Regions from separate parts of the Homo sapiens genome. Here region 2 is linked to region 1. Evidence: promoter capture Hi-C in human tissues and cell types (Jung and others, 2019). All regions are on one chromosome and are shown on one strand. Each heading gives the region's core, a stretch centred on a gene start or on the middle of the fragment in contact. The rest is flanking DNA. Distances are from core to core; before and after follow the strand shown. Region 1 holds the start of CTCF (CCCTC-binding factor). Region 2 overlaps RANBP10 (RAN binding protein 10).

Region 1 (3,750 bases), core at 1,079-3,578:
TTCTTCATGTCTGTACCCAAGCAGCTGAATGTTGGAGAAAAACCAACACACTGGGCCAACTGGTTTACCTTTAACATCATGATCACAAACCTCAGATGAGTACCCAATGCCACCAAGGCAATCCTGTTAAGGACTTGCCTTCCCTCTCCCCTGCACTTGCATCTGTCTTCACCTTTGTTGCCCTTATCATGAATGGAAGCATCCCTGTTCCTCTCCAAGGTCAACCCTCCCTGTTTCCTTATATCTTCTGATGGATTTCACTCCTATATAGGTCAAGCAAGCCTCCTCTCTCCTGGATCACCCATCTTTCTTCCCCACCATATCCCTCCCAATGGCACATAAACATGCTCTGGGAACCCTACCATCTTTTATTTTATTTATTATTATTTTTTGAGATGGAGTCCCGCTTTGTTGCCCAGGCTGGAGTGCTGTGGCCCAATCTTGGCTCTCTGCAACCTCTGCCTCCCGGGTTCAAGCAATTCTCCTGCCTCAGCCTCCCCAGTAGCTTGGATTACAGGCGCGCGATACCATGCCCAACTAATTTTTGTATTTTTAGTAGAGACCGGGTTTCACCATATTGGCCAGGCTGGTCTCGAACTCCTGACCTCAGGTGATCCACCTGCCTTGGCCTCCCAAAGTGCTAGGATAACAGGCGTGAGCCACTGCGCCCGGCCCCTACTATCTTTTAAAAGATTTCTTTCTATATCTATCCCCAAACTTATCTGGTCCCTTCACAGCAAAACCTCTCTCAAATTGCATACATGTGCTGTCTCCATTTCCTCACTTTCCTGGTGACTGTTTAACCCATTCCGGTCAGGTCCACCTCCCTGATATACTCACGTGAATCAAGCCAAGGCCATCAGTGACATTCTCCAGTGACTTGCAAGGTGACCCAATCCAATAGCCACATCTCTGGCCCAAGTTTATCACACCGCTCAGCTGATGCCTCCTACCTGAAACCTTCTCTGCCCAGGGATTCCACAACTCAGCGCTAGCTTTCATGACTTCCTAGATGCTGCCTTTCAGACTCCTTCTCCATTACCCTCCCAATATTGGAGTGCCCCAGGATTTGGCCATGGAATTTCTCTTCACTCTTTCCTCCAAGCCAAGCCAGGGGTCGTAAACTGACAGCTCATCTGTGTGGTTTAATCAGCTCATGAAGTTTAAAAACATCTGATTCAGTTGCTAACATCTAAAAACTCTGGAGATTTGACATCTTAAAAATACAGATTTTTTTATTCCTTTAGGGGAAAAAAAAAGAGTATGTTATTGGGCCAGCATTCTCACAACGGAACGGTCAGATGGATGGAGAAGAAGCTGCTCCCTAGATATTGGGTCCATTTGATATCTAAGGGAAGAGTCATATTCCCTGTAAGTACCAAAAGGCTCTCATCCCAGAGCCACCAGCACCTTGCAGTCAGTTCTTGGTCAACTTGACTGCAGGTTGGGAAGGGTCCGCAGGCGCCTCCTGGGGAGGGGTGGGACTGAAGGTCTCCGCCCACAGAGAACAGCTCTCCCGCAAAGACAAGAAATGCACGTTTCCACAGAATTACACAGCGCTAAATACAGAAACTCCTTTCAGTAAAAAGCGATTGCTATGAACGTGTTAAAGCATCAAGTCTGGTTTTCCGCCACCTCTCCGGGCTGAGGTGGCCTGGGGACACCAAGAGGAGGCCCTCCCACTCTCCTCTCGCACCCGCTTTTAGGTGGCCCTCTTCTAGGGCGGAGAGATCACCAAAAGCCGCTGAGCAAGGACAGCCCTTCCAGTCGTCGCTCGCGGGCACGGAGCTGGGAGCGCGCGGGAACCGACCGGGCCTTACTCTGGGGCGGGCAGCTGTAAGACATTCGGAGGGCGGGTCGGGCCTGGCTGGGGCGGAGACTGGGCGGGGCCGGGCCCGGGAGCCTCCTCAGCCCCACTGGCTTGCCCCGCGCGCGCTTCCTCCAGCCACCCCCACTTCCCCAACCCTGTACGGGTTCAGGGGGCCGGAGACAGCAGCTAGGGAATAAGGTCAAGCGGACTGGATCCGGCACCGCCCAGGGGCGGCGGCCTCCGCCCAGGAAGCCCCACCCAGCGGGAGCCAGGACGCCGCGGCGCCGGCAGAGCCCACGAGCGACCCGGCGAGGGCGCGTGCGGCGTGACGACGCGACTCGCGGCGCGTCCCGTGACGCCATCGCGCCCGCTTTTGAAAGTTGGCGCCCGGGGCCGCCTCCCATGCTGCCCTGCGCCAACCCCTCCCCTCACCTTTCCTCCCCCGCCCTCTACTCGCCGCCCGGCCGGTCCCCCCACCCGTCCCTTCCCTTATCAGCACCCGCGGCCCCGGCAGCGCCGACGCAGGCGCACTGCACCGCGCCGCCGCCATTTTGTGTCTGAGCCTGTGGAGCGATTAAACCGTGCGCGGAGCTGCTTCTTTGGCGGCAGCGGCGGCGGCGGTGGCCGGTGCGGACGCGCGGAGCTCGCCGGAGACGCCGGGTGGCCGGAGCCGTGGAGCGGCGGCGGAGCGGGCGCCGCGGGGGGTGTGGCGCGGAGGTAAGGGGGCCCGGGGTGGAGGAGGTTTCGCGGGCCGCCTCTAGGTGTCACGATGGGGCCGCTCCGGTCGGCGCTGGCTGCAGCCCGGCGCCAGCGCCGCCGCCGGGGGGTGTTTGTCTCCCTCTACCGTCCCTGCTGCGGCGCGGCCGCCGCCATTGCCCGTCGCCGCCGTGGCCCGGCCGCCCCCCCCACCCCCACGCCCGCCCGCCCGCCCGCCCGCTAGGCCTCCCTCCTGGCAGCGCGCTAGGCCTCGGGCGGCGGCAGAGGCAGAGGCCCGCGCGCCCGGCGACTCCATTTTCCTTCCTTTGTCTGCCCTCGAGGCCGGTTCTTGGCCGGCCGATCGCCCGGCCGCGGCCCGCCCTCTGTCCTGTGTCCTCCGCCCCTCCCGCGGCGGGTGGCCCCAGCTGAGACACTATCTCCGCGTCCCGGCTTCGGCGCCCGCCTAGCTTAAGGGTTCGGACCGACTGCCGCCGCGCGCTAAGCCAGGTCCCGGTGCCGTATGGGTGTCGGGCCCTGGCCGTCGCGTCTCGGGCTGCCCCTCCTCCAGCCAGCCCCGTCCCCGGAACCTACCCTGCCGGCCTGCGTGCCTTCCCAGCTGCTTGGCTGCTCGGCGGTCGCTCCCAGTCCGCGCGTCGCCGCCGCTGGTCTCCGTCTCCGCCGAGTGGCGCAGGCGGCGCTGCAGCGGCTGCGAGCAGAGGGACCCCAGAGCTGCCGAGAGCTCCCTCTGCAAGGCTGGCTGAGCTGCTCGCACCTCTACGCTGCCTGAGCGGGCGGGGGGACGCGCGCTCGCCGCCCCCGCTGCGCCCCCAAACTCGCGCCCGGGTTCCTGGCCGGACCCGACCGGTGCGGCCCCCCCACGGTGGGCGGAAAAGATGCGAGTTCCGCACCAAGTAGTTTTTATCCAGCCGGGTTCGGACTCCCCAGCCGAGTGATAGCAGCCTGACTTTGTGCGCTCAGAGATCTCAAAGGGACTGAAACTTAAATTTCATTCTGATCTCAAGTGACGTGACAAATTTCTGAATTTGGGAGTATGGGCTAAGTCCCTTGAGTTTCCCTCCCGCTTTAAAATGTCCTCACACTAACTTAGTACCTGATGCTCTAGGGCTAGGTGAAGGCGGTTCTGCCCCAGGATTGTGCAACTCGATCTAGAGCGCCAGTAGGGCAGAATGAGTTTATTCTTGACTCGACTGGTAATTTGCCCATGCGATGAAATATGAGGGTTG
Region 2 (4,100 bases), core at 84-2,583, 200 kb after region 1:
TGGCTCATGCCTGTAAACCCAGCACTTTGGGAGGCTGAGGCAGGAGAATCACTTGCCCAGGAGGCGGAGGTTGCACTGAGCCAAGATTGCACCACTGCACTCCAACCTGGGTGACAGAGCAAGACTCCATCTCAAAAAAAAAAAAAAAAAAAAAAAAAAAAACATTAAAAAATAAATTAGCCAGGTGCAGTAGCTCACACCTGTAATCCCAGCACTTTAGGAGGCCAAGGCAGGTGAATCACCTGAGGCTGGGAGTTCGAGACCAGCCTGACCAACATGGAGAAACCCTGTCTTTACTAAAAATACAAAATTAGCTGGGCGTGGTGGTGCGTGCTTGTAATCCCAGCCACTCGGGAGGCTGAGGCAGGAGAATCGCTTGAACCCGGGAGGCGAAGGTTGCCGATGAGCCGAGATTGTGCCATTGCACTCCAGCTTGGGCAACAAGAGCAAAACTCCATCTCAAAAAAATAAATAAATAAATTAGTCGGGGCTGGGTGCAGTGGCTCACGCCTGTAGTCCCAGCACTTTGAGAGGCTGAGGTGGGCGGATCACGAGGTCAGGAGATCGAGACCATCCTGGCTAACACGGTGAGACCCCATCTCTACTAAAAATACAAAAAAGTAGCCAGGTGTGGTGGTGGGCGCCTGTAGTCTCAGCTACTCGAGAGGCTGAGGCAGGAGAATGGCGTGAACCCAGGAGGCGGAGCTTGCAGTGAGCCGAGATCGCGCCACTGCATTCCAGCCTGGGGAACACAGCAAGACTCCATCTAAATAAATAAATTATAATAAATAAATAAATAAGTCAGACATGGTGGCATGTGCCTGTAGTACCAGCTACTTGGGAGGCTGAGGTGGAAGGAGCACTCGGCCCAGGAGGTTGAGGCTGCAGTGAGCTGTGACTGTGCCACTGCACTAGTCTGGGAGACAGAGTAAGACCCTGTCTCAGATAAATAAATAAATAAACAAACACCAAAGTCTCAAAATCTGGACCCAGCCTAGGCCACCACCACTACTGCCTCCTACCAACCACACATCTGAACCATCCAATTGACCTGCATCTCAACGAAGAGCCTCTTGGAAATCAGCAGCGGCTGGCAGAAAGGCTTTAGCTGCTGTCGTCTTCCATCCCACCTCCCCACCAAAATACCAGGACCTTCATCTCTGTTTATGAATGATGATGCTTTCGGTTTTGCAAAATGTATGCTCATCACCAGAAATAAAAAAGTGATCCCAGAAACTGGAAAGCACCAAAAGGGATTCCGACTTCAAAACCCAGTACTGCAATGAATAACGGCAAGCTGATACAGTTTGGATGTTTGTCCCCTCCAAATCTCCTGTTGAAATGTGATTCTCAATGATGGAATGGAGCCTGGTGGGTGGGAGGTGTTTGGGTTACACTAGCATTCCTCATGAATGGCTTGGTGCCCTCCCAGCGGTAATTAGTTCACATGAGATCTGGTTGTTTGAAAAGGAGTCTGGTACCCCCCGCCCCCACACTGCTCTCTCTAGCCATGTGATATACCAGCTCCCCTTCCATTCCACCATAATTTTAAGCTTCCATAGGCCCTCACCAGAAGCAGATGCTGGAGCTAGGCATGTACAGCCCTGAATCATGAGCCAAATAAAACTCTTTTCTTTATAAATGATCCAGCCTCAGGTATTCCTTGACAGGAACACAAACTAACAAAAAGGCCCACTATCACCCCTGAGAGGGGTGCCCTTTACTCCATCCTCCCACCTGCCCTGTACTGGATCTGACCGGACATTCAGCTAGCCCTGTATTCTGGAAAAGCCAGGGGCATCCATCCTTCCCAGGGAGAAGTGGTATCTAGATGCAATCTGATTCCTCCTTTCCACCTTAAAGACAATCAGGGAGATGATCAGATATGGCAGGAAGGAAAACCCTGAGGAGTTGGCAGGCAGAGTGAAACAAAGACAAGTGCAATATCCACTGAACAGTTAGGCCCCTTTCCCTTGCCAAAGAGAAGTGCACCCATGAGGAAAATAGATTTTCCTACAGCTTTGTATTAGCAATGTCAAAGGACATGACCAGTAGCTGGCTTCAGACCAGCCCAGAGAGGTTAAGTCTCATATTGTGAAAAAGAGAAACAGACTAGGCTGGCTCCATATGGTCCCATCTCAAAGAGACTCAGATCAGCCCAGCAGACTCTGAACACCTCTCACCTCGTCTACTCCACTCCATGGATCTCAAACTCAATGGGTGACACAAAAACAGTTTTTACTAGGCAGGCATGGTGGTATACACCTGTAGTCCCAGCTACTTGGGAGGCTGAGGCAGGAAGATCATTTGAGCCTATGAATTCAGGGCTGCAGTGAGCCGTGACCACTCCACTATACTCCAAGCTGGGCAACAGCGAGACCCTGTTTCAAAAAAAAAAAAAAAAAAAAAAAAAAGCCAGGCACTGTAACTCGCGCCTATAATCCCAGTACTTTAGGAGGCCTAGATGAGAGGATTGCTTGAGCCCAGGAGTTAGAGACCTGCCTGGGCAACACAGGGAGACCTTGTCTCTACAATTTTTTTTTTTTTTGAGACGGCGTCTCGCTCTTTCACCCAGGCTGGAGTGCTAGGGCGCTACCTCAGCTCACTGCAAGCTCTGTCTCCCAGGTTCACGCCATTCTCCTGCCTCAGCCTCTCGAGTAGCTGGGAGTACAGGCGCCCACCACCGCGCCCGGCTAATTTTTTGTATTTTTAGTAGAGATGGGATTTCACCGTGTTAGCCAGGATGGTCTTGATCTCCTGACCTTGTGATCCACCCGCCTTGGCCTCCCAAAGTGATGGGATTACAGGCATGAGCCACCGCGCCCTGCCTCTACAAGAAAATTTTAAAAATTAACCAGGCATGGTGGTGTGCACCTGTAGTCCCAGCTACTCAGGAGACTAAGGTGAGAGGATCACTTAAGCCTGGGAGGTCAAAGTTGCAGTGAACCATATCATGTCACTGAACCCCAGCCTGGGCAACAGGGCAAGACCTTGTCTCAAAAAAAAAAAAAAAGGTTTTTATTAAAGAAAAAAGAACATACGGCTAGGCATGATGACTCATACTTGTAATCCCAGCACTTTGGGAGGCCGAGATGAGTGGACTGCTTGAGCTCACTTCAAGACTAGCCTGGGCAACATGGCAAAACCCTGTCTCTACAAAAAATACAAAAACGGCCGGGCGTGGTGCCTCACGTTGTAATCTTACTACTTTGGGAGGCTGAGGCAGGCAGACTGACTGAGCTCAGGAGTTCAAGACCAGCCTGGGCAACATGGCGAAACCCCATCTCTACTAAAAATACAAAAAATTAGCCAGGCGTGGTGGTGTGCGCCTGTAATCCCAACTACTGGGGAGGCTGAGGCACGAGAATAGCTTGAACCCGGGAGGTGGAGGTTGCGGTGAGCCGAGATCGTGCCAGTTCACTAAAGCCTGGGTGACAGAGTGAGACTCTGTCTCAAAAAAAATAAAAATAAAAATAAAAATAAAAATAAAAATACAAAAACTAGCTGAGCATGGTGGCATGTGCCGGTAGTCCCAGCTACTTCGGGGGCTGAGGCAGGAGAATCGCTTCAGCCTGCAAGGTTGAGGCTGCAGTGAGCCATGTTTGCACCACTGCACTCCAGCCTGGGCAACAAAGTGAGACCCTGTCTTTAAATAAAAAAAGAACATATGAAGCAAAGGATACTAAGTCCAACACATGGCGTAACAGACCACATCCTAAGACTACCTAAAAGACAAACATGAGGATTTCCTGATACAGGGCCATTTGCTTTGGTTTATTTTGTTTTAATTACATTTATATTTTTAAAACAGATAACATATTCACAAGAAAGAAAATTCCAAAGGCTTGTGAGTGAAAATTTTTCTTTCTCAGTCCTGGCTCCCGCCACCCATCCCTTCCCAAGGAACAGCAAATATTACAAGTTTTTCTGTAGCTTTCCAAAGATGATCTATACATATACAAGTAAATACAGATATGTTTGTTTTCTCTTTTTTTTGCACATTTGGTAGCACATCATATATTTCCATGCTTTATATTTTTAATTTCCCAATATATCCTACAGATGATTCCAAATTGGTACCTAAAGAGTCCCCGGCCAGG

Evidence for each region. Contacts are between HindIII fragments. The study calls those that stand out against the background at their distance.
Region 2: a contact is called between a fragment that was not itself captured here and the fragment with the promoter of CTCF in region 1, in 1 of the 25 tissues and cell types used here (pancreas).

Annotation. Positions count from the first base shown.
Region 1 is chr16:67,560,198-67,563,947 of GRCh38, forward strand. It overlaps CTCF (CCCTC-binding factor), which reads left to right and starts at 2,329. Exons shown (of 12, transcript NM_006565.4): 1 at 2,329-2,527. CTCF-DT (CTCF divergent transcript) reads right to left here and starts at 2,112. Exons shown (of 1, transcript NR_158165.1): 1 at 1,214-2,112. It overlaps LOC124903703 (a long non-coding RNA gene), which reads right to left and starts at 3,253. Exons shown (of 2, transcript XR_007065094.1): 1 at 3,098-3,253. RefSeq lists enhancers at 1,421-1,470, 1,491-1,540, 2,685-3,547 and silencers at 1,771-2,780, 3,301-3,400. The HindIII fragment of the contact is 9,573 bases long and covers 1-3,750 here.
Region 2 is chr16:67,765,067-67,769,166 of GRCh38, forward strand. All of the region lies in intron 3 of RANBP10 (RAN binding protein 10), which reads right to left. Among named protein-coding and RNA genes, the nearest start is that of RANBP10, 39 kb to the right of the region's middle. The HindIII fragment of the contact is 7,139 bases long and covers 1-4,100 here.